5 separate regions of the Homo sapiens genome follow, and all the other regions are linked to region 2. The links are contacts of gene promoters, found by promoter capture Hi-C in blood cells and fetal thymus (Javierre and others, 2016). All regions are on one chromosome and are shown on one strand. The core of a region is centred on a gene start or on the middle of the fragment in contact, and the rest is flanking DNA. Distances in the headings are between cores, read along the strand shown. Region 1 holds the start of WAS (WASP actin nucleation promoting factor). Region 2 holds the start of TSPYL2 (TSPY like 2). Region 3 overlaps OTUD5 (OTU deubiquitinase 5). Region 4 holds the start of CLCN5 (chloride voltage-gated channel 5). Region 5 has its middle 10 kb from the start of UBQLN2.

What was found. The method cuts DNA at HindIII sites, captures the fragments that hold promoters and counts their contacts. A CHiCAGO score of 5 or more calls a contact.
Region 1: the fragment with the promoter of WAS here is called in contact with the fragment with the promoter of TSPYL2 in region 2 in 1 of 17 cell types (monocytes); the score reaches 5.6 in monocytes.
Region 3: a contact is called between a fragment that was not itself captured here and the fragment with the promoter of TSPYL2 in region 2, in 1 of 17 cell types (monocytes). The highest score is 5.0, in monocytes.
Region 4: a contact is called between the fragment with the promoter of CLCN5 here and the fragment with the promoter of TSPYL2 in region 2, in 1 of 17 cell types (neutrophils). The highest score is 7.0, in neutrophils.
Region 5: a fragment that was not itself captured here is called in contact with the fragment with the promoter of TSPYL2 in region 2 in 1 of 17 cell types (monocytes); the score reaches 5.5 in monocytes.

The regions. Positions count from the first base shown.
Region 1 is chrX:48,680,515-48,685,065 of GRCh38, forward strand. It overlaps WAS (WASP actin nucleation promoting factor), which reads left to right and starts at 3,285. Exons shown (of 12, transcript NM_000377.3): 1 at 3,285-3,471; 2 at 3,769-3,909. The coding sequence starts at 3,340. The HindIII fragment of the contact is 18,512 bases long and covers 1,236-4,551 here.
Region 2 is chrX:53,079,044-53,083,676 of GRCh38, forward strand. TSPYL2 (TSPY like 2) reads left to right here and starts at 3,324. Exons shown (of 7, transcript NM_022117.4): 1 at 3,324-4,262. The coding sequence starts at 3,456. It overlaps GPR173 (G protein-coupled receptor 173), which reads left to right. Exons shown (of 2, transcript NM_018969.6): 2 at 1-1,572. RefSeq lists silencers at 3,189-3,298, 3,569-3,618, 3,649-3,698. The HindIII fragment of the contact is 18,116 bases long and covers 1-4,633 here.
Region 3 is chrX:48,924,053-48,929,111 of GRCh38, forward strand. OTUD5 (OTU deubiquitinase 5) reads right to left here. Exons shown (of 9, transcript NM_001136157.2): 6 at 1,795-1,998. Among named protein-coding and RNA genes, the nearest start is that of PIM2, 7.6 kb to the left of the region's middle. RefSeq lists enhancers at 1-465, 3,405-4,043. The HindIII fragment of the contact is 737 bases long and covers 2,924-3,660 here.
Region 4 is chrX:49,920,527-49,925,191 of GRCh38, forward strand. It overlaps CLCN5 (chloride voltage-gated channel 5), which reads left to right and starts at 2,070. Exons shown (of 15, transcript NM_001127898.4): 1 at 2,070-2,266; 2 at 2,881-2,956; 3 at 4,645-4,665. RefSeq lists a silencer at 2,332-2,381. The HindIII fragment of the contact is 4,286 bases long and covers 1-2,833 here.
Region 5 is chrX:56,550,989-56,555,732 of GRCh38, forward strand. No RefSeq gene overlaps it. Among named protein-coding and RNA genes, the nearest start is that of UBQLN2, 10 kb to the right of the region's middle. The HindIII fragment of the contact is 892 bases long and covers 3,024-3,915 here.

The DNA.
Region 1 (4,551 bases), core at 2,035-4,534, 4.4 Mb before region 2:
GGCTAAAAGCCACCAAAACCAAGACAGCAATGAAAGTAACCTCTGGTCTTCCTAACTGCTCATTATACACTAATTATGATGCACTAGCATGCTAAGAGACACTTCCACCAGCGCCATGACAGTGCCATGGCAACATCAAGAAGTCACCCCACATGGTCTAAAAAGGGGAAGAACCTTCAGTTCCCGGAATTGCCCACCCCTTTCCTGGAAAACTCATGAATAATCCACCCCTTGTTTAGCATATAATTAAGAAATAACTGTAAGTATCCTTAGTCCAGCAGCCCAAGCTGCTGCTCTGCCTATGGAGTAGCCATTCTTTATTCCTTTACTTTCTTAATAAACTTGCTTTCACATTAAAAACAACAACAACAACACCAACAACCAGCAAATATATCAGAGGCTTAGCATCCCCTATTCAAGGGGACAGTTCTGGAGGCCGAGAAAGAAGTAGAAAGGTGGAGAATAAAAGACACAAAGGAGCAGAAGAATTTTATCTTGGCCTCCATGTGGCACCTCACAGCTTGGGAACAACAATTTCTCTCATAATTTTCCTCAGCTCCACCACTCACAAGCTGTGTGACCTCGGGCAAGGCACCCAAGCTCCTCTGGGCCTCAGCTTCCCAGTCAGTACAATGGGGTAACAGTAGTGCTTACGTTTTTTGTGTTTTTTTTTGAGATGGAGTCTTGCTCTTGTCACCCAGGCTGAAGTGCAATGGCACGATCTCGGCTCACTGCAACCTCCGCCTCCCAGGTTCAAGTGATTCTCCTGCCTCAGCCTCCTGAGTAGCTGGGATTACAGGTGTGCACCACCACACCAGGGTAATTTTTGTATTTTTAGTAGAGACGGGGTTTCATCATGTTGGTCAGGCTGGTCTCGAACTCCTGACCTCGTGATCTGGCTGCCTCGGCCTCCCAAAGTGCTGGGATTACAGGCGTAAGCCACCGCACCCGGCCAGTAGTGCTTACTTTGTGGGGTCATCTGTGAATGTGAAATGAGTTAATAAATGGAAAGCACTTAGAAAAGCCTCTGGAACCACTGAATCAAATTGGATATCATTACTGAACCTTCATTCAATGCTTCAATACCCATTTAGTGTCATCTGTCCAAATGCTGGAGATACGCCTAGCACACACTGACTGCTCAGTGAGCAGTGTCACAATGAACACGTGCAATGGCCTTGAAGGCCACATCGGGGCTTGCCCTGATCAGCAGGTTGGAGGTGCTCCAGGCCCGAAGCTTAGCTGTGAGTGGGGACACGGGAGGGAGGTTGGAACTGCCACTGCAGAAGGGGTTCTGAACCTAGGTTCAGGAGAGAGGCTTTGAACCTGCACGTGTGGGAAGCCATGGAAGTTTCCAGGAAGGACTGCAGGTCCCAACTGGAGATGTGCCGTTCCTCCTTCAGGTACCTGGGAATGTCAGTCACACCCCAGACCTGCTCAGCTCCCCCAAACTGCTGTTCCTGTATCTGAGAGCTTCAAGTCTCCAAATGGCCTACCTCATACATGGGGAAACTGAGGCCTGGGGAGGCCGGGGACTGAGCTAGCATTCACTTGTGGAAATAGTCTGGCATCATCTGGAGAAGTTAGAGACATGCAAACCCTACAGCCCTCAGATTCCCGTCTGAGAGTCTGCATGCCTATGTGGACCAGGAGATGTGTGCGGGAGTGAACACTGCAGTGTTGCTCCCAACAGCAAGAACCAGAAGCAGCCCAAAGGGCTGTTACAGGAGAATATGGACACCCAGGCTGCACATGCACACCATGGAATGCTGTATGGCAGTGGAAATAAATGAACAGCTACCACTATAGGCAAACAGGAATCACAGCAACAGCCAAGAGTGAAGGCGTGGAGGGACGAGACCATGCACTCACACCTGGCCTGCCTGGCTCGCACTCCGGGCAAAGGGGTCAGAACAGTGACTGGCACACACGTTAAGTGCTATGTGAGTGTTAAGATAAAACTAGGATGTCCAGTGGGGAGAAAGCAAGCCTTTGAAGATTATGTGCTTTTACAAACTTCAAGTGCAATGAAAACTAAACAAGATGTTGTTCAGGCATTCATATATGATATAAAGTTCCTTTCTTTAAAAAAGGGATGGGCTGGGCACGGTGGCTCACGCCTGTAATTCTAATACTTTGGGAGGCCGAGGCAGGTGGATCACGAGGTCGAGAAATCGAGACCATCCTGGCCAACATGGTGAAACCCTGTCTCTACTAAAAATACAAAAAAATTAGCTGGGCGTGGTGGCGTGTGCCTGTAGTCCCAGCTACTTGGGAGGCTGAGGCAGGAGAGTCACTTGAACCCGGGAGGCAAAGGTTGCAGTGAGCCGAGATCGTGCCACCGCACTCCAGCCTGGCGACAGAGTGAGACTCCATCTCAAAAAAAAAAAGAAAAAAAAAAGTATGACAAGCAGAAAGTAATTTGGGAGCTGCGGGGAGGCAAGGGTAAGGGATGGGGAAGTGGACCAGAGGCATATGCGTCATTGGCAGTGTCTAAGCACTCACGATAGGCGTGGATCACAGGGGCTCGCTCTGTAATTAAAAGGAAAAGGGTTTTTGTTGTGTTGTTGTTGTTGCTGTTTTTGAGACAAGGGTCTTGCTCTGTCATCATCCAGGCTGGAGTGCAGTGGTGCAGTCTCAGCTCACTGCAACCTCCGCCTCCTGGGTTCAAGCGATTCTCCTGCCTCAGCCTCCTGAGCAGCTAGGACTACAGGTGTGTGCCACCATGCCTGGCTAATTTTTGTATTTTTTAGTGGAAATGGGGTTTTGCCATGTTGCCCAGGCTCGTCTTGAACTCCTGACCTCAAGTGATCCACTCGTCTCGGCCTCCCAAAGTGCTGGGATTACAGGTGTGAGCTATTGTCCCCAGCCAAAAGGAAAAGTTTTACTGTAGTAACCCTTCCGGACTAGGGACCTCGGGCCTCAGCCTCAGGCTACCTAGGTGCTTTAGAAAGGAGGCCACCCAGGCCCATGACTACTCCTTGCCACAGGGAGCCCTGCACACAGATGTGCTAAGCTCTCGCTGCCAGCCAGAGGGAGGAGGGTCTGAGCCAGTCAGAAGGAGATGGGCCCCAGAGAGTAAGAAAGGGGGAGGAGGACCCAAGCTGATCCAAAAGGTGGGTCTAAGCAGTCAAGTGGAGGAGGGTTCCAATCTGATGGCGGAGGGCCCAAGCTCAGCCTAACGAGGAGGCCAGGCCCACCAAGGGGCCCCTGGAGGACTTGTTTCCCTTGTCCCTTGTGGTTTTTTGCATTTCCTGTTCCCTTGCTGCTCATTGCGGAAGTTCCTCTTCTTACCCTGCACCCAGAGCCTCGCCAGAGAAGACAAGGGCAGAAAGCACCATGAGTGGGGGCCCAATGGGAGGAAGGCCCGGGGGCCGAGGAGCACCAGCGGTTCAGCAGAACATACCCTCCACCCTCCTCCAGGACCACGAGAACCAGCGACTCTTTGAGATGCTTGGACGAAAATGCTTGGTGAGCTGGGGATCTCCTGCCCCCGCCCCGTCCCCACCGTTTCTTCCTCTTCCTCTCCTCCTTCTCTCTCTTCCCCTCCTCCCGCTCCTCCTTTCCCTCTCCATCATCTCCTCTCCTAGAATTTCCCGTCATAATCCACCCTTCCCAGGAAGATCTCAATGTCTACTTGCCTTCCCTCTGGCTGCAGCTCTTCCTTTGGGCCCATGACTGTCATGAGGCAGGAAGGACCAGGTCTGGCTCCAAGACCTTGTGGCTACCCCTGACCAGACTCCACTGACCCCTGCTTTCCTCTCCCAGACGCTGGCCACTGCAGTTGTTCAGCTGTACCTGGCGCTGCCCCCTGGAGCTGAGCACTGGACCAAGGAGCATTGTGGGGCTGTGTGCTTCGTGAAGGATAACCCCCAGAAGTCCTACTTCATCCGCCTTTACGGCCTTCAGGTGACCCCCCCACCCCCGACTGGACTTGCAAGCCAGTTCTCAACCCGCAAACCCAGATCTGTGTCCATATGTGTCCATAGCTTCAAGACCTCAGACCTGATCAGTGAATCCCTGAGCCCCAGAACCAAAGACTCATCCAGATGGCAAACTCTGACTTGCCTTTCTAAGTCTGCAATGACTGGCCCCAGTCTCCGTATCAAGATCTCTAAAGCCCCCAGTATTAGTCTGCTGCCTAAGCCTAATCTTTTCCACAAATTCCAATAAATGAGCACTGTATTTGTACCTGAACCTCAAATCTATTCTAAACTCAACATTTTGCATCCCAGGAATCTCTCATCAAAACTCCTGAACCCCAGATGTTTGCCAAGCTCCTAAGTCATAAATCTGTTCAACAAACCCCAAAGTTGAATATTCCATTGATCCTTGAACTCCAAATCTGTCCTTCTAAATCCACAGCACAGACCCCAGAGTTCCCATATTAAAATTCCTGAACACTCAAATACCGAGGTAGTTCTTAAGCAAAAAGTCTTTTCCACAATCCCCTGACCTGAACTTTCTAGGTTTAAGCCCCAAATTCATCCTTTTAAACCCATAAAGATGGACCCAGCATAACTTCCAGATCCCAAGGCTATCAAATATCCA
Region 2 (4,633 bases), core at 2,074-4,573:
CCAAGCCTCCTCCCAGGGGTGGAGTCCACTCTGGGCTTACTTTGAGGCCTGTTCTGTGGATTGGTGAGCCAAGCTGGCACTCCTTGCCCTGGTCTTACCCAGGCTCTCTGTCCCCCTCTCACTTCCTGTGGGGCCGGAATCTGTATTTATCCATCCCCCTTTCCCTTCTTTATAGAAGTCCCTGTCCTAAACTCCCTCCCTAGCCCAAGAGAGCCCCAGAACTGGGGAAGCCTGACCCATACAGAATGGGGAGGGCACTCTAGGCAGGAGAGACATTAATGAGCCTGGCTGCAGAGTGGCCCTGGAAAGGCAGGCCAGAGTGGCTGAGAGGCTGGGAGTAGGGGAGCCTGTTCTCTCAGCGATAGTGATGGGGGTGCCTTTCCGAGGGGGTGGGGTGGGAAGACCAAGGGGGTGGGGGGTAGATAGGGTACATTTAGGAGGGTTTTCCTCCATTTCTTTTTTCTAACTGCCTGGATTCACCATTGGATTTTGTAAATGGAAAAACTGAAATGAACAATGCTATACTGGATGTTTTCTCTTTCTGACTGTGTGTGTGTGTGTGCGTGCGTGCGTGCATGTGCCCTGTCTGACCACATGTGGAGAGACATGATTGAGTGATAGTGTGTGTCTGTGTGACTTTGTGTGGGGAGGCACTCCTGAAGAAAACTTGCCCGGTGCACACACGTAAAATGCCTGTATATGGGGACAGATACAGCACGTGCATGCATACACACACACACACACACACCACAGTTGAGAGGAGACAAACTAGAGTATGTGCCCGTGGTAGGAAGTCGAGTGGTCAAGAGATGGATCTTGGAAACTACATAGGTCGGTAGCAAGAGGGTAGACTCCCATCTCACAAGATGGGCCTCCCTTGGCCCAGGCCCTGAGCACGGGAGGGCTGGGGCCGCCAGGGAACTTGAAAACCTCATCTCCTCACAAAGCCTGTAGCCCCATCTCAACCCCGTCTCAGTCTCCTTCCCAAACTCAAACAAGGTGTTCCTAAAATTGGACCACCATGGAGAATGGGGACTGGGAATTGAGGATCAAATGTGAGGGAAACTGATGAGGTTAGGAAATGCCCCCCACAAAGTAATGGCTTCTGGAGGGACTGCTCAGTCTGGGATGGGAGCCCTTCCTAGGGGCCACTGTATGCAGCTGGGACTTTGGTCAGCTTTGACCAAATTTAGAGGGAGGGATGTCATGGGGAAAAAAAACCCAAGCCCAGGAGTCTACCCAGCCAGCCTGCTCCCTAGACAGTTAATTTACTATCTGGTTATTCTCTCAGGTGCACAGAATTGAGTTGACCATACTCCTCAGTTCTTGGCACACTATATCATCATTGGTCCATGTGAGGCCCTTTTATTTTTTTTTCTTCAGTTTTGTCCCCTTCATCACCCATTCCTGATCCCATCCTCCCCGCCCCCTACACAGGCACCCACTCTCGTGTATTTAACGTACGTCCTTCCAATCCACCGTTCATGTGTTTATTTACATATATGTGTATCTGTGAAAAATGTATGGTATTGCTGTGTGTTTTAATTTACATAAACAGTATTGTACTATAAATCTTGTTGTTTCTTTTTTCACTCAACATTCTGTCTTTGAGAGATCCAGCCATGTTGCCGTATATAGATCTAATTCATTCTAGTGGTCCATCTAAAACATATATCACATTTTTCTTATCCACTCCCCTGATGATGGATCCCTAGGTCTCCTCTCTGCTCCGCGACAAGGCTGCAATGGGCAGTTACCTACACCTCTCTTGAGGGATGCCTAATTTAGGGGAGAGAAAACTGAAGCTCAGAGAGGGGCAGTGATTTGGTTAAGGTTACAAAATGAGGGGCACACCCATGATGTGAATCCCAGCACCAAAGCCAGCCCTCCACCACCATGCCTCACAAAAGACCATCCATCTCTGGTTTAAAAAGAAAAATCTTAAAATACAGCATACACTGGGGAAAGGGAGAGGAAAGGATGGAAAGGGGGAGAAATGAAGAGACAGAAAGTGCTAGAAAATTCTAGCAGATGAGCTGAATCACAATCATTTTTATGACGCAGAGGAAGTTACTTTTTTGTGTGTGTGATTATTATTTGTAGAGCCATTTTGCGGAGATGGAAAACGCCACGTCAAAACCTGGCCCCCAAACCAAACACCCTGGGTGCCTAAATTGCAGGCGCAGGCGGTAGGGCAGCCCGAGCCCCCGAGGAGCTACAGCAGAGTTCACCCAGGGGGCAAACGTGGGGGGTGGGGGAAGGGGCAGAAGTGGAAGGTAGGAAAAGAGGCAGAAGCGGGGGGGCGGGGGGCAGGGGTTGTGTGAGGGAAGGGGCAGAAGTTGGGGGATAGGGGAAGGGCAGAAGCGGAGGGCGGGAGGGTGAGGGAAGGGGCAGAAGTGGGGTTGGGGGGTGAAGGAAGGGGCAGAAGTTGGGGGATAGGGGAAGGGGCAGAAGTGGGGGTGAGGGAAGAGACAGTTGGGGGATGGGGGTCAGAAGCAGGGAATGCGGGAAGGGGCAGAAGGGGGGGTGAGGGAAGGGGCAGAAGCGGGGGAGGAAGGGGCAGAAGCGGGGGGTGAAGGGGCAGAAGCGGGGGTGGGGTGGGGGAAGGGGCCGAAGCGGGGGATGGGGGAAGGGGCAGAAACGGGGGGTGGGGGAAGGGACAGAAACGGGGAGTGGAGGAAGGGGCAGAAGCGGGGATGGAAAAAGGGGCAGCAGTGGGGGATGGGAGAAGGGGCAGAAGCGGGGGTGGGAGAAGGGGCAGGAGCTGGGATGGGGGAAGGGGCAGGACCCGGGATGGGGGAAGGGGCAGAAGCGGGGGTGGGGGAAGGAGCTGAAGGAAATGGGGGAAGGGGCAGATTTTAAAAGTGCGTAGTTGCTGAGGGGAGGGGGGCGGGGGGAACGATAACGAGGCTCTTCCAATTTCATGTGAGCACATCCTGCTCAGCGCCTGCGTTTGTTTTTCGTCTCGTTTTTTGGTCTTCAGAACCACTGGTACTTTTCCCATTGGATAAAACGCTGAGAGGGTGAGGGAGAGGGGCTTCTTCCCCAGCTTTCCTCGCAGCCAATCGCCCTGCAGTTTCCCTCCCGTCGCTGAGGGAGTCAGCCCGTTGATTGGCGGGCCCGAGGGGAGCCAATCGGAAACTGATGATGTGTGGTGTTGGCAAGCGGATTGCGTGAGAGCGGGCAGGGGTCGCGGGAGCGCGATCGCCGCCGCGGCGGCCGGCAGCCAATGGCCAGGCCGAGCGGACCCCTGCGTCAGGAGTGGGCGGGGCTTCGGCGATTGGCGCGGAGGGAGTAGAGCGGGCGCTGTGGGAGGGAACGCCAGAGCGAGGTGGTGAGGAGAGCTGGTTGCGTGAGTCTCCTCAGCTCTGCTTACCGGTGCGACTAGCGGCAGCGACGCGGCTAAAAGCGAAGGGGCGAGTGCGAGTCCCCTGAGCTGTACGAACGCGGTCGCCATGGACCGCCCAGATGAGGGGCCTCCGGCCAAGACCCGCCGCCTGAGCAGCTCCGAGTCTCCACAGCGCGACCCGCCCCCGCCGCCGCCGCCGCCGCCGCTCCTCCGACTGCCGCTGCCTCCACCCCAGCAGCGCCCGAGGCTCCAGGAGGAAACGGAGGCGGCACAGGTGCTGGCCGATATGAGGGGGGTGGGACTGGGCCCCGCGCTGCCCCCGCCGCCTCCCTATGTCATTCTCGAGGAGGGGGGGATCCGCGCATACTTCACGCTCGGTGCTGAGTGTCCCGGCTGGGATTCTACCATCGAGTCGGGGTATGGGGAGGCGCCCCCGCCCACGGAGAGCCTGGAAGCACTCCCCACTCCTGAGGCCTCGGGGGGGAGCCTGGAAATCGATTTTCAGGTTGTACAGTCGAGCAGTTTTGGTGGAGAGGGGGCCCTAGAAACCTGTAGCGCAGTGGGGTGGGCGCCCCAGAGGTTAGTTGACCCGAAGAGCAAGGAAGAGGCGATCATCATAGTGGAGGATGAGGATGAGGATGAGCGGGAGAGTATGAGGAGCAGCAGGAGGCGGCGGCGGCGGCGGAGGAGGAAGCAGAGGAAGGTGAAGAGGGAAAGCAGAGAGAGAAATGCCGAGAGGATGGAGAGCATCCTGCAGGCACTGGAGGATATTCAGCTGGATCTGGAGGCAGTGAACATCAAGGCAGGCAAAGCCTTCCTGCGTCTCAAGCGCAAGTTCATCCAGATGCGAAGACCCTTCCTGGAGCGCAGAGACCTCATCATCCAGCATATCCCAGGCTTCTGGGTCAAAGCAGTATCCTTCTAATCGATACTCCGTAGGTCAGAAGCCCGTGACAGGAAAGGGGAAGGTGGGGGAGGGACAGAAAAGGTAAAGCGGGTGGAGGAGAGCCAGAGGTGGGCATGATCCCCCTATCGGAAGACGGACTAGACTGGGTGGAAGAGGGATGGAAGGAGGAGGGCAAAACAGCAGAGAAGCTGGACTGGAGATGATGAAGGGTGGTGGAGGGGGGGCGGACATAAAAACTGGACCACAGATGGGAAAGGGGGAAGAGGAGGAACATAGCATTAAAAAAAGGATCACAGATGATAAAAAGGGGGAGGGTAGTAAAGGGGCACACAGCAAAAAAATTGGACCAGAGATGGTGAAAGGAGGAGGGGAGGGGC
Region 3 (5,059 bases), core at 2,042-4,541, 4.2 Mb before region 2:
CTGCAGCGGGGAAGGTAAATGCGTTAAGGACCACCAGCAGCCATGACCTTCTTGTGACCCATCCCTGAATGCTGGCTCCCTTCCCAGGACCTTGGCTATGATACAGCTTCTATGTAGGTCAACATCATCCCCACTCACACGGTGGACCACAAGACTCCTCACAGGACAGAGGTGGAGCTCCTTACCCTTTCTCTCACACCCCTACAGCCAATCTGACAGGAAACCCTGTTACCTCTATCTTGAAAATAGATCTCAAATCCAACCCCTTCTCACCAACTCCACTGCCAGCACTGGCCACCAGTCACCTGGCCTACTGCAGTAGCCTCCTCCTCACTGGCCCCTGCTTCTGCCCTCACTCACCAGACTCCACTGGATGACTAGCAGGCAAGGCGATCTTATTAAATCCCCAACCACATCCTGTCCGTCCTCTGCTCACAATCCTCCCATGGTTTCTGCCTCTCTGAGAGTAAATGCCAAAGTCCTCGCCACAGCCCACAAGCCCCTACCCAATTGGACCCACAACCTCTCTGACTTCATCTACTACTACATTCTGTTCGGATACACCGGCCTCCCTCTGGGCTGTGCCTGAGTTGTACCAGGTGTGTGGGCCTGCTGTCCTCCCCTCCATGTGCGCTCAGCTAACTCTCACCTTCTGCAAGGCTCAAATCTCACCTGCTCTGAGGCCTACCCTGACTGCGCTATTTCATACCGTGAACGCACATTCCTGCTCAGCCCCTTTATCCTGGCTCTACACTTTCCATCCATAGCACTTCCCAACTAATTTATTCATTATATTTATTATTTTATTTCACTCTGCAAAACTGTGAACATCACAAGGACGGGGATCTTGGTCTGCTGGGCTCACCTATGTATCCCCATATACTGAAAACAGGGCCTGCCACAGACTGGTAGTAGGTATTTGTGGAATAAAACTCAGCTCCTTCAGCCGGGTGCGGTGGCTCACGCCTGTAATCCCAGCACTTTGGGAGGCCGAGGTGGTCGGATCACGAGGTCAGGAGATGGAGACCATCCTGGCTAACACGGTGAAACCCCGTCTCTACTAAAAATACAAAAAATTAGCCAGGCGTGGTGGTGGGCGCCTGTAGTCCTAGTTACTCCGCAGGCTGAGGCAGGAGAATGGCATCAACCTGGGAGGCGGAGCTTGCAGTGAGCCGAGACTGCGCCACTGCACTCCAGCCTGGGCGACAGAGCAAGACTCTGTCTCCAAAAAAAAAAAAAAAAAAAAACTCAGCTCCTGCCAGCCAACATCTACAATCACTCCAAACTCCTTGCGATTTTACAATTCCTCAGATGCTTGTCTGCCCCGCCCCTCCCCGCTCCCCTAACAATTCAACCTTCCTCTGTGAAGACTAACCGGAGCCCCCACCTCCACTGATCTCCCAGTCAGGGTCAAGGACCCCACCATTGAGTTGTCTCTGCCAACAGACGAGATCGTTGAGGGCAGAGTAGTCCAGATCTGATGTTACATTCTCAGTAGAGACCTGGCACACAAGGGCAGTCAACAAAAGCTTGTGTCTCTGAAGCTATCCATTATTCTCGTGTCACCAGCAGCATGGCTGCCCTCCTCTCACTCCTTAAGTGCCTGTTCTGCACAAGTATTTAAAGTTCCAAGGTACAATGCCAAAACTAAGACCAAGATGAGTTACAGATGGTGCTGGATGCTTCCTTCCCTCCCAGATGTCAAAACTGCTTAATTTTTTTCTGCTCGCTTGAGGGCAAAGCATGAGAAGTAATGAGTTTTTGGCCAAGCCTGTGACAGAGTCCATGACCCACCTGGCTGGGGCCTCGGACCTGGCGAGCCTGTTTCTCCTGATCCCGCAACCACTGCAGGTAGGATTCCCGAGCCACCTGCTCCTCGATGGCTTCATTTGTGGCCTCCCAGTCTGTGGCCCGTTTCTTGTCTTCTAGCATCTGCTGTTCAATCCATGACTCCTCCGATGTTTTTATGGCATTCTTCATCAGAGACTGCTCTGCAAACTGCAAGGAGGGAGAGGAACAGGGATGTGCAATAACACACTGAACCTGCCCAAGAGCCAGAACAGGCTCAGCGAGGTAGGCCCACAGGCCCCAGAAAAAAAAGGAGACAGGAAAGCAGGTACTCCCAAAGAGCAACACTCCACAGACTACCTCTTGATTGGGGACCAAGGGAAAGCAGGCTTGGGATGTGGGACCTGTCATTCCAAACTCCTATGCTTGTAAGACCTGACTCTAACCCCCAAACCACCTCAACTGAGGCACTGAGACTGGAGCAGTCAGGTGCCTTCCAACCTGGGACTTATTTTTTTTTTTTTTTCTGAGACGAAGTATCGCTCTGTCGCCCAGGCTGGAGTGCAGTGGGGTAATCTCGGCTCACTGCAACCTCCGCCTCCCAGGTTCAAGGGATTCTCCAGCCTCAGCCTCCCAAGTAGCTGGGATTACAGGTGAGTGCCACCACCCCCGGCTAACTTTTTTGTATTTTTAGTAGAAATGGGGTTTCACCATGTTGGCCAGGCTGGCCTTGAACTCCTGACCTCAGGTGATCCACCCGACTCGGCCTCCCAAAGTGCTGGGATTATAGGTGTGAGCCACTGCACCTGGCCCTGGGCCTTAATTTAAAGAAGCCCCATCCAGTGATGACTGTTTCATAATGTTGAGGACTTTCACACACATGAGCAGATGAGACACATACAAAAATTAGCTATGTGTGCACCGGGTGGAGGGAGTATTCAAGCATGTGAGGGGTTGGGGGAAGTAGTGGGTGTGTGAGGGAATAAGGGGGCAGTATCAACATGGTGTGGGGTGCTATGAGTTACAGGACACTACATCAGAGTACTGTTTTTCAGGCTGAGATCCAACAGCATTTTTAAAAAATAGAAAATATCAGAATATATCCCAGGGAATAAGTGCAAATGTTGTTTCATGAAGCTTTAGTTAACATTATTTTAATGCACATATACACATCACACACAAATGCATATATGCTAAGTAATCATGTAAAATGTATTCTTTTCTTTTTCCTGCAGACCTTGCATTCAGATAAAATGTAATTTTTTACTGTGAATAGTTAAAAACAATTCGTAAAACTATGTTAGAACAAGCCAATTAAAAAAATAGTCAAAAAATCTAACCACTCTGGCAGTGTTAAACACACTCCAAGTGTTTTTTCTACTCTCACTCAACAACAATCAACACAGGAGACTTCTGTGACCAAGTGTGCGGGCTGGGGGGAGGGTGTTTTCCCACACAGCAAGCAGCGGACACCTGGTGTCCATCCTCCAATGCAATTCAATACCCAGAGACAGCCTGGGATCCCACAGGTTGAGGGCTCAGTCCCACAAGACTCCCCCCAACCCCCTTCGAACACCAGTCGAAAGTCTGGGCCTCCAGAATTTCTGACTGACCAGCTATAAATTGGGATTCCCACAATACTTTTTTGGGGGTTCAACTAACTTGCTAGAGCAGCTCACAAAACCCAGGAAACACGTCTGCCAGTTTATTATAGAGAAAATTACAAAGGATACAGATGAGATGCACAGAGTGAGATATGGGGGAAGGGACGTGGAGCTTCCATGCCCTCCCTGGGGTGCCACCCTCTAGAAACTTCCATGTATTCAGCTACCCAAAAGCTCCCAGAACCCAATCCTTTTGGGATTCTTTGGAAGCTTCATTATGCAGGCATTATTGATTATGCCATTGGACACTAGTGATCAACCTAATCTTCAGCCTCTCTCCCCTCCCCAAAGGCTGGGGGATGGGCTTAAAGTTGCAAACCTCTAATCCTGCCTTGGTCTTTCAGGTCACCAGCCCCCATCCTGAAGCTACCTAGAGGCTGCCAGCCATCAGTCACCTCATTAGCATACAAAAAGGCAACACTTTGCAGATTCTAAGGATTTTAGGAATTGTATGTCAGGAAGTCACAAACACAATTCACCAAAGAAGCTATACAGATGGCAAATAAGCATATGAAAAGATGCTCAACAGCATTTGCCAATAGGCAACTGCAAGTTAAAATAATGAGATACCACTACACACCTAAGAGAATGGCTAAAATCCAACACAATGACAGTATCAATTGCTGGTAATGCTGACAACAGGAACTTCCAAATCATTATGGTGGGCATGCAAATAATACAGCCACTTGGGAAGACAGTTTCTCAGTTCCTCATAAATCAAAACATAATCTTACAACGCAATCCAGCAATCTTGCTCCCAGGTATGTATACAACTGATCTAAAAAATTACGTCCACAAAAAAACCTGCATGCACATTACAGAAGCTTTATTCATAATCATCAAAAACTGGAAGCAACCAAGAATGTCTTTTAATAGGTGAATAATTAAACTGGTACCTCCATAAAAGGAACATTAAGTGATAAGAAAGAAACCAGCTAACAAGCCATGAAAGAACATGGAGAAACCTTAATGCATACTGCTAAGTGAAAAGAAGCAGTCTGTCACATTGACCATTTTAATTTCAGGGGGGAAAAAAGCAAATTGGCTGCAGGTGGCTCACCCCTGCAATACCAGCACTTTGAGAGGCCAAGGCGGGAGGATCACTTGTCCCCAGGAATTTGAGATTGGCCTGAGCAACACAGTGAGATCCTGTCTCTACAAAATAAAAATATTTTTAAAGTTAGCCAGGCATGGTGGTGTGTGCCTGTGGTCCCAGCTACTTGGGAGGCTGAGGTGGGAGGATTGCTTAAACCCAGGAGGTAAAGGCTGCAGTGATATTGTGCCACTGCACTCCAGCCTGGGCAACAGTGATACACTGTCTCAAAAAAAAAAAAAAAAAACAGTATGAAAAGGCTACATACTGTATGATTACAATTATATGACATTCTGAAAAAGGCAACCCACAAAGACAATAGTGTTTGCAGGAAGAGGGAGGAAGGGAGGGGTAAGCATATGGAGTATGAGGAATTTTAAGGGTGGTCAAACTATTCTGAATAATACTGTAATAGTAGATACATAACATTACACATTTGTCAAAACCCATAGAATGTACAACACAAAGAGTGGACCTTAATATATGCTATTTAAAAAAAAATTAGGAAGGCTGG
Region 4 (4,665 bases), core at 820-3,319, 3.2 Mb before region 2:
TCTTCTACTTCAATGACAAAAAAAAAAATCAAGCAAACAATCAAACCTTTCCTTGAACAATTACTCTAGATTCACCTTTTAAAAGATGAATTCCAAAAGAGGATTGCCTTGCTCAGAAACCTCAATTCTTTCTCAGTCACTTTTTGAATTAGGTATAAATCTTAGTCCAATATTCAGGATGCTCCAAAATTGGGCCCCAATTTACCTTCTGGGTATTATCTTCCACAATTCCCCTGTACTTCCTTACCCTAAACTTCAACCACATAGGACTACTCACGGGTCCTCACATATAACTTCCTGCCTGCTCACCTTTGCCAACGGTGTTACCTCCACTTGGATTTACCTTTATTAGAGGCCTGTACTGATATTTTCTAGTTATTTGTGGCTATCCCATACACCATGAGTGCCTGAAGGAAGGGACTGAATGTTACCAGCTCAGAAAGCAAAAAAATTTTGGACTGAAAAAATAAAAATCCGGCCATTCATCAGGCCGGAATAACACACAGATAAAACCAGATGCAAATTTAACAGAGAACAATATTTCTTTGGCGGACATATTGCAGCTGTAAAGTGGTAACGATGTTTTTATTTCAGTGACCACCACTTTTTTATTCACTGAGAGACTTTGTTCTCTAAAATCGTAGATTATCAGAAACTTTTCTGCTTGAAATCGTATCAGTAAGAATGAAACATCCCACATGCATCTGGAGGACATAAGTTTCTTTGACACAGAGAAGCAGCCTCAATTTCCAACCCAGGTGCAGAGCTTCAGATAAGGGGTATCTGGACACAACATTCCACATCTATCTTTATTTTGTGGTTCCCAAGGAAACACAACTCTGGGTTCACTTTGCAGTTCAGACCTGATGGTGACCCCAAATGACAGTACTGCTTTGCTTTGAGCTTACCAAAAACACTGCTTTGTTTAAAATTCACCTAAACTCCACTCTTCTCTCCAATCCTATAATGACTCCATGTTTTTCTGTTTGATGAAATGCCTACCGTGTGCAGTCTCTCATATTGCAATGGGTCAAAGCCTGACTATGTCGGATTACAAATTTGTCCCCGGTAGCCTTATGCTGATTGGGCTAGGATAGGGGTTTTTAAATCCCTGACCACTTAGCTTGTCCAAAGTAGGCATTCCAAATTGTTCACTGCAGTAGAGTACCCTGGTTCTAGTTAGATTACTTGGATTATATGGATTCCAGTCTCAGGTCTGCCAAGAACTAATTAGCTGGATCATCTTAAGTGAGTCAGTGCACCCCATTTGGCCTAAGTTTTCTCTTCTGCAAAACGGTGTGCTGTTTCTTTCAAACCTAGGGTAAGGGCTTTGGAGTAAGTTAGACCTAGGTTGGATTCCCAGTTCTACCACGTACTAGTCCTGTGACTTCAGCTTTTCTGAGCCTCTGTTTTGTAATGATTAATATGGAGATAATACAGTACTAACAACTGCAGTATAGTTTTTGCAGCGTTGCTGGAAACATCAAGTTGGCTGTTAAAAGTATCACTACGTTTGATCACTATTCCTATTCCTACTATTATATGAGTTTAGACAAGTTACTTAACCTTTCTGTGCCTGTGTATTTTTATGAGTAAAAATGGAGAAATAACCCTCGGGGTTATTGTGAACACCAAATGAGACGAAAAAAGTAAAGGGGTTAGGAGAGTGCCTGGCACATAAGAAGCAGCTCAAATTATGTGATCTAATGTTATTAGTATTAGATTTCTACTACTAATTACTCTGTGGGCCGAAAGCTCAGGATAGACAGTTTCATTCTAAGGACAAACCTTCTCCCCAGCAAAAAAAGGCACTGCAAGCTGGAAATAGTGAAACACAATGGGGCATTGCGTTTTCAAAGGCAACTGACACGCCCAGCACTGGGATAGGACCCGCCCGCCCAGTCCTCATTAAATATGGCAGCGAGCGGGGCCGACGTACTGCGGCTGCGCAAGTTGAAACTCCTCCTGGCAGCTCCTCCCCGGCGGGCCTCCCCTCATCTCGGCTGGGTAGAGGTGCCGGGTGTGAGCTCGGCGTGGCGCGCACGCGCAGACGCTGGCTGGGCTGAGCCGATACTCGCGAGGCGCCCTGTCACATGAGCCGCGCGCCCGCTTCGCTCCCCCTCCTCCCCGGCTGGGCTGTGTGAATGAAGCTCTGCCGGCTACGTGGGGCGCTCACTCAACTTGGTGTCCTGGACGCCAGAGCCGACCGAGCGCGCTGCCCACCGGCGGCGGACACGGGCTCCGCCGCTCCGGACCTCGGCGACAGGTAAAGGCAAACGGGCTGTCCCTTCCCCAACAGGTCCTTGGCGGGCCGCTGGCCCCCGGCCCACCCCCGGAGCACCCCCTAAGCGCAGCGACACAGGGGAAGCGCAATCCCGCTGGCTTGGACCCCCGGAGATGGGGCTTCCCCGCGCCCGGCGTTGGCAGCCCGGCGCTTAGAGGAGGTAGACAGGCTAGTTCCAGCCAGTGCTGAGCGGCGTCTTCCCGGGAGCCCAGCCCTGTTCTCCGAGTTATGGTCCCTGGGTTGCCCGAGCGAAGTTTCCTTGCGGAGCGGCGCCAAGCCCGCCCCGCTTTTGAATCGGAGTGTTTAGCCGCCTGCGTCCCCTTTCCCGGACTGGGGTAGGGTGACTTAGGCTGGCAAAGCTCAGCCGAGGCCCGGCTCTTCTCCCTCCGGCTCTGGACTTGCCGCTGGTTTTGTATGGGTCTTAGCAAAGTGGAGAAACTCTCGGAAAAGTAGTTGCTGCGCTGTTTTCCTTTTGCCACTTAACGCGCGTAGCTGGTTCTCTCCAGACTTTCGAGCCTTGCTCTTGAGCGCCTTGATCCACACGGGAAAAGCTTTGCCTTTACATTGACGCACGTTTCCTTTGATTAACATTTCAGAGCAAATCAGTTGCCTGGAGTTCCCAGTGAAGTTGTACCTGTGCCCGTGCGATAACGTCAGTGGAAGCTGCCCCGAGTAAGTGAGGGAAATCTAGAAGTTTGGAGCATAAAAAACCAGCACGAATCAACTTTACATAAACTTCATACATTTATTAGCAACTGCTCGGGTTTAACTTCAGGGATGTTAAATTTCGCCTAGTCCCACGGGACGATGATCATTACTTCTTAACTGCACGCGAAATAGGAGAAGAAAAAAGGCAAATCAAAACAGACTGTCCCAGGTCTCAGAGAAGTCATCGGAGCGCTTTTTCCTGCTGAATTCACCCTAGGAGTTTGTGAGTTCCTAGTTTTCTTGGACTTCGCGAACTTTTCCTTGTCCAAAGCACTGTCTTTTCTCTGTTGGTGTTTTGGGACTGGTGTACACATTAACCCTTTTGTCATTAAAGAAGGCCAACACGATTCTCAAGCTAGTATTAGCCTTCAGTGTTTGTGCTTTAGCACTTTCACTTAGGAGGTGGAGGTGTTGGTTGTATAAAAGATATGGAAATAACAATCTACTTTGATGTTCACCAGGTCAAAAAGGTGAAGACTTTTAGAAAAAACAGATTGGCTTGTATGCTAAGTAGGGAAGACCAGTTTATTAACTGAGATCTTGTTTAAATGGGCAAGCAGAGTGTTAAGCCTCTAAGTCAAACTAAGTCGTCAGACCTCTCATTTTTTCTCCCATTCCTAGCTCCTATTTTTTTTTTTTTTTTTGGTTTGAGCCGGCTCTCGTTCTGTCGCCCAGGCTGGAGTGCAGTGGCACAATCTTGGCTCACTGCAACCTCCGCCTCCCTCCCGGGTTCAAGCGATTCTCCTGCCTCAGCCTTCCGAGTAGCTGGGATTACAGGCGTCACTTGTAATTATAGTGCACCGCCATACCTGGCTAATTTTTGTATTTTTAGTAGAGACGGGGTTTCACCATGTTGGCCAGGCTGGTCTCGAACTGACCTCAGGTGATCCGCCTGCTTCGGCCTCCCAAAGTGCTGGGATTACACCGCACCCGGCCCCTAACTCCTTTAATATCTTTGCAAATATTGTCCTAGGACTGGATTTGAAGTTTTAACAACAGGAATTAGCTGAATTAATTTGGTTTTCTTTAAACTGGTATTCCATTTTTACATTTTTCTTCTTCTTTGGTTCATTTTCCCCCTGATTATAAAAGCAATATACGCTCACTATAGGAAATTTGCAAAGGGTGGGAAAGTATAATGACACAAGGAGAGAGAACTACTACTCAAAGGGTATCATCACTCTTCACTTTTTATTCCGCTTCCTTTTTTTTCCCCTATACAAGATCTGTTTCCAAACTTTATTCATAAACTTTCCTCTCCTTCTACTGATTTTTAAATGTAAAGTTGGGTATTTTGGGGGTTGGTTAGGGCACTGGATATTAATGTTGCTCTTCAGTCTCCAAAGCATGAAACTTCAAGGTAGGAAAGGTGCTTAACGGTGATTTCATCCAGCAACTCATCAACTGAGACTCAGACCTCATTTACTGAAGCTCTAATGATTCATGCAGAAATGTATAGCACTGAGTGGCAACATTAACTCACTCCAGATCTCTCTCTCTTCAGAGATACCTTGCTGCTTAGAGGGAAACTTGACACTACCCATGCCTGCATATCTTTGAAAGAGAGGTTCAGAGAGGAGCAGGAGATAATTTTCAAGCATTTGAAGTGTATAGTTTCTTTTAGGTATTCATTTTTCTGTTTACATTTTCAGGTTTGGGGCTTTAGCCCCTTG
Region 5 (4,744 bases), core at 2,220-4,719, 3.5 Mb after region 2:
CTTCAGCTCTCTCCTCCCTTGCTTTCTGTGTTGTCATACTTTCCTGATTGTCTTCTGCCGCCTTCACTACTCAGTCTCTGCTATATGCTCCTCCTCTTCCAGACCTTTTATAGTGTCCCAGAACTCAGTCCTGGGCTTTCTCTTCTCTTTCCTCCACTTTACTCTCTTTCTCTTTCTTTTCATTTACAGAGTGAGTAGGTCAATCAGATGATCCAAAATTTGATTTTTAAAAAATTAGTTTATATTCTATTACTATCACAATGAAAAGACACAAAGATGAAATTATCACAGAGAACTTTCTTTTATGTTCATGGACCCCCATGGAGTTCTGAGCACCTCAGAGAAATGAGAGAATTCTGGCCATATAGAACATATAAAGTGCAGAAACTCCACAATCTATACATAACATACTAATAGCTCAACATATATTTTTGAAAATAGATTGTTTTTACTATCAAACTGGTCAGCCTCGATAATGGCTTCAGCATTTGGGCCTTATCTATAATAATTACAACAACAACTACTACCAATTTAGTGATAACCTACAATGGTCTAGGCTCTGTATCAGGTGCTTTACATATAGCATCTCATCCTACCTTCACACAATCCTGAGATATAGATAATACCATCACCATTTTTTCATTTGAAGAAACTGAAGCACAGAGGCATTAAATTGATAGTTGAAGACTATAGAGTCAGTTTATGAAGAAGCTGTGTTTAAATTCCAGGTTGACTAGGATTTAACTGATTTCAAAACTGGCTTTTTAGTGCTATGCTTGTATAGGCCATTCTCACATTGCTATAAAGAAATGCCTGAGACTGGGTAATTTATAAAGAAAAGAGGTTTAATTGGCTCATGGTTCTGCAAGCTATACAGGAAGCATAATGGCTTCTGGTTTTAGGAAGGCCTCAGGAAGCTTCCAATCATGGTGGAAAGCAAAGAGGGAGCAGTTGTCTTACATGGCAAGAGCCAAGAGCAAGAAAGGGGGGCATGCTACACACTTTTAAAGGACTAGATCTCACAAGAAATCACTCACTATTGCAAGGACAGTACCAAGGGGGATAGTGCTGAACCATTCATGAGAACTCTGCCCCTGTGACCCAATCACCTCCCACCAGGCCTCACCTCCAATATTGAGAATTACAATTCAACATGAGATTTGGTGGGACAGAGATCAAAATCATATCAATGCTCTTCATCTAATTTACTGATTACTTAAATTGTCCTGCAATTTTGGAGAACATGTATAGTTCAGAAGAAAGAGGTTAACTGTGTGATTTTTTTTAAGAAGAAACTTTAAACGTATTTCTTTTTCATCAATGAGAATGCATGAAGTACTGCTACACAGAACAACAGAGATGAATCTTACAAATATAAAGTTGAGCAAAAAATGCCAGACTCTAGGTAATATATACTAACTGATTCCATGCACATAAAGTCCAAAAACAGGTACAACTAATTTTTGTGTGCTAGAAACTAGAATGGTGATAATCTTAGTAGAGGGTTTTGGCACTGGTAAGGAGTATGAAGGATGCAAGGAATATTCTGTTTCTTCATCTGGCTGCTGGTCACACAAATGTGCTCATAGAGCTCAACACGCATGATTTGTGTGTTTTCTGTCTATATGCTATACCTCAATAAATTTACTTTAAAATTATTCATTTTAATTTAACTACATGGCTAGATATGAATTCACATATTCTTCAAGTCAGTGCTCCTATTATTGGACTACTGCAATTCTAATCAATAGTCACAAACATATATATCCTTACTCATTTCATTCAAACTGACTAGGTTTGAATCCTAGCTTTGCCACATACTAGATATGTGACCTTGAGCAATGACTTAACAGCTCTGCACCTTATTTTTCTCATTTATCAAATAAGAATAATTAGTATCTACTTGTAAGAATGCAATGATTTAATTGCTACCCCTTAGCTAAAGATCACCAAAGCATCATAATTATTTCCATAATTATTCTCATCACTTTGCTGTTTCCACTGAACAATTGCCTTGACCAGACAATTCTTCACGTCCCTACATGGACAATTATAAATGTCTTCTAAGAAGTAATACACAATGTTTTTAAAATCCTGGAAGCACAGCTACTGGAAAATCCTAAGATTTTGAATCCACTCAATGTCATCTGCACAATTGTTACTTACCTAATTTCCAGAGAAAATTGTAAAAGGTGATTTTTCCACAGAACATATTCATACCTACAAAGTTCAGGCTCTAGGGAGAATTTCTCTTCTTGACCTGAAGTACCTAAAGTACTCTCTTTGACCTACTACCAATATGCTTGTCCACTTTGCCAAGGGCCTTCTCTCATTTATTGCACTTATTCTTTTATTCTGAGACATAATTAAAGTTTCTATTCAAAAGTAACTTGGCTTTCTCTGTGTTCAGATGAATTAACTAATTCCCTGTATTCATATGTCTAACTTAGCTTTTCTGGTTCGATGGCTGCTTCATTTTTTGAGGCATATTGTTCAGAAAATCTATACATTATTCAAAAATTTATACACATCAAAATCACTCATTTCTATGCTTTCCATTCTAATTTTTTATCTGTTGAGCAAAATCAACAGAAAATTTTAATAATCCAACAACAAACAAAAATTGAGTTGTTATTTTTGCCTAATGACTGATAGGAAGTTACCCCAGTCCAAAACTTGCTACAAAATTTTGTAACCTATTTGTATTTAACCTGGTTTTTCTATGTCAGGAAAGTTCCCATTGCCTCTTTTCTCGGAATCCTAAAGCTATCCTAAATCCTCTCAGTCTGGAATTCTTATTCTCCTCAGATTATGCCCCATGCTCTGCACTATTTTTCTTCTGAAGAGGATTTGGATTTCATTTAGAAACCCATTTAAAATTGTACTACCATTCAAATATTCTTTGTCTCATCTTCTGTTTCATGACTCTTGTTATTCACTCTCTATCCTTTTCTGCCTATGTCATCATCATGCAGTATAGTTCTTTCCTTGGCTAATGTCCTCTGGCTGCATTTCTTCACAGAAGCTTATTTTTCCTATCTTCTCTTTTTGGTTATTTCTAGTTTTTCTCCATCCAGTCAGATATATTTCCTGTCACTTTCTTTCCAAGTTATGTTTTACCAGCTATTCTCTCCTTGATTATTTCTGTGTATTTTGAGTGATTATTACACTACACACTAAACTTTCACCTACATGTTGTGAACGTGTAACTATGTATTCCATCTGGTATCATGACCCTATAAACTTCTCCCATAACAATGTATTACTAAGTTATTAATTCTAACTGAAAATAAACTGTACTTGCTTATTTGACTAATGTTGCTCTTTCCGAGCAACATTGTCAGTAAGGGACTATAAGTTACCTTTCAACTACACCCCACCTCAAGAACTAGAAAATGAGAGCTATTTGAGTGTATTTTGAGGATTATGTTGTAGGATCAGCACATCACTAATCAAGGAACACAGATGTAAAATTATCTGAGGAGACAAAATGAATTTTGGGCCCTTAAAGTATAAGTATACTGTGACCTGGCTGACTGTATTAGCATCTTAAGAAAGAATGAACCACAAAGGCATAGGGAAAAGTTGGTCCCTGAAGTAAGGATTGGCAGCAACCAATGGATACAGGTGCCTTAGCCACTTGACTTCCAGTATTTTCAACCCTATAATCAATATCATCTCTGTTGGGAGATGAATGCACAGCACTAGCTTTGATTTATGTCATTAAACTGTTAGTTTATGATCTTATGAATCATGGTTTACCCAACAACCATCCTGCTATATCCCATCATATGTCTTTCAGATGATTTTGCTTGTGTCTGCTCTGATTAATGACGTAGGCTTATAATTTACATTCAAAGGGCAATCAAGTAGCTCTAATTTTCTAGTTCTGATTTTTATTTGGCTTCCTATTTAAGCTTTGAGAAGGGAAATGTGCTGGATGCATACACATAAGTAGTTTAGGTAGGCATCACAGTCCTGTTTCTCACTGGAAAATAATAAATTGGCATTCTCCCGTCTATCTCAGTCTCATCTGCTGTTTCATTTGTGTGAGTCAGTAACTCAGGGCCTGCACTATTCTGGCAGCTGGTAAAAGTGAGACCTTTGGACCTGCAAAACATAACAAAAGCCAGCAAGGCAACACTTAAATAACTGTTGAGACATACTGAAGTTGACATCTAAAGTTTGTCACCGTATATTTAAATAATTGCAAGAATACAATTTCTGGGATATTATGAATATTGACATTTTGAAATAAACTGTTACGTCCATTAAAGCGAACTAAATATGGCCTGAGAAGGGCTCTGTACTTCTATATTTGAGTCTTTGTAGACCATTTCTAACCTAACTTAATAGGTAGACAAGATTGAAAACCTAAATTAGGAGTGTGTGCCTGTAACAATAGCTGAGTCTTGGCCAATTCCAGCAGCCATACTTCAACCACTCATACACTGCTGAGTGTTCACACTCTGTTCAAATAATGCAAACACCAACCTGTAACCAATCCAGCTGTTTCTGTACCTCACCTCCGATTTCTGTACATCACTTTCCTTGTTTTGTCTATAAATTTATTCTGACCACAAGGCTTCCCAGGAATCTGTTTGAATCTGCTGTGATTCTGGAGGCTGCCCAATTTGTGAATTTTTTTTTCTTGCTTAATTAAACTCTGTTTAATTTTCCAAAGTTTTCTTTTAACACGTCAGCCTCTTAAATGTATCCAGCAGACCCTAAATACTATAGCAAC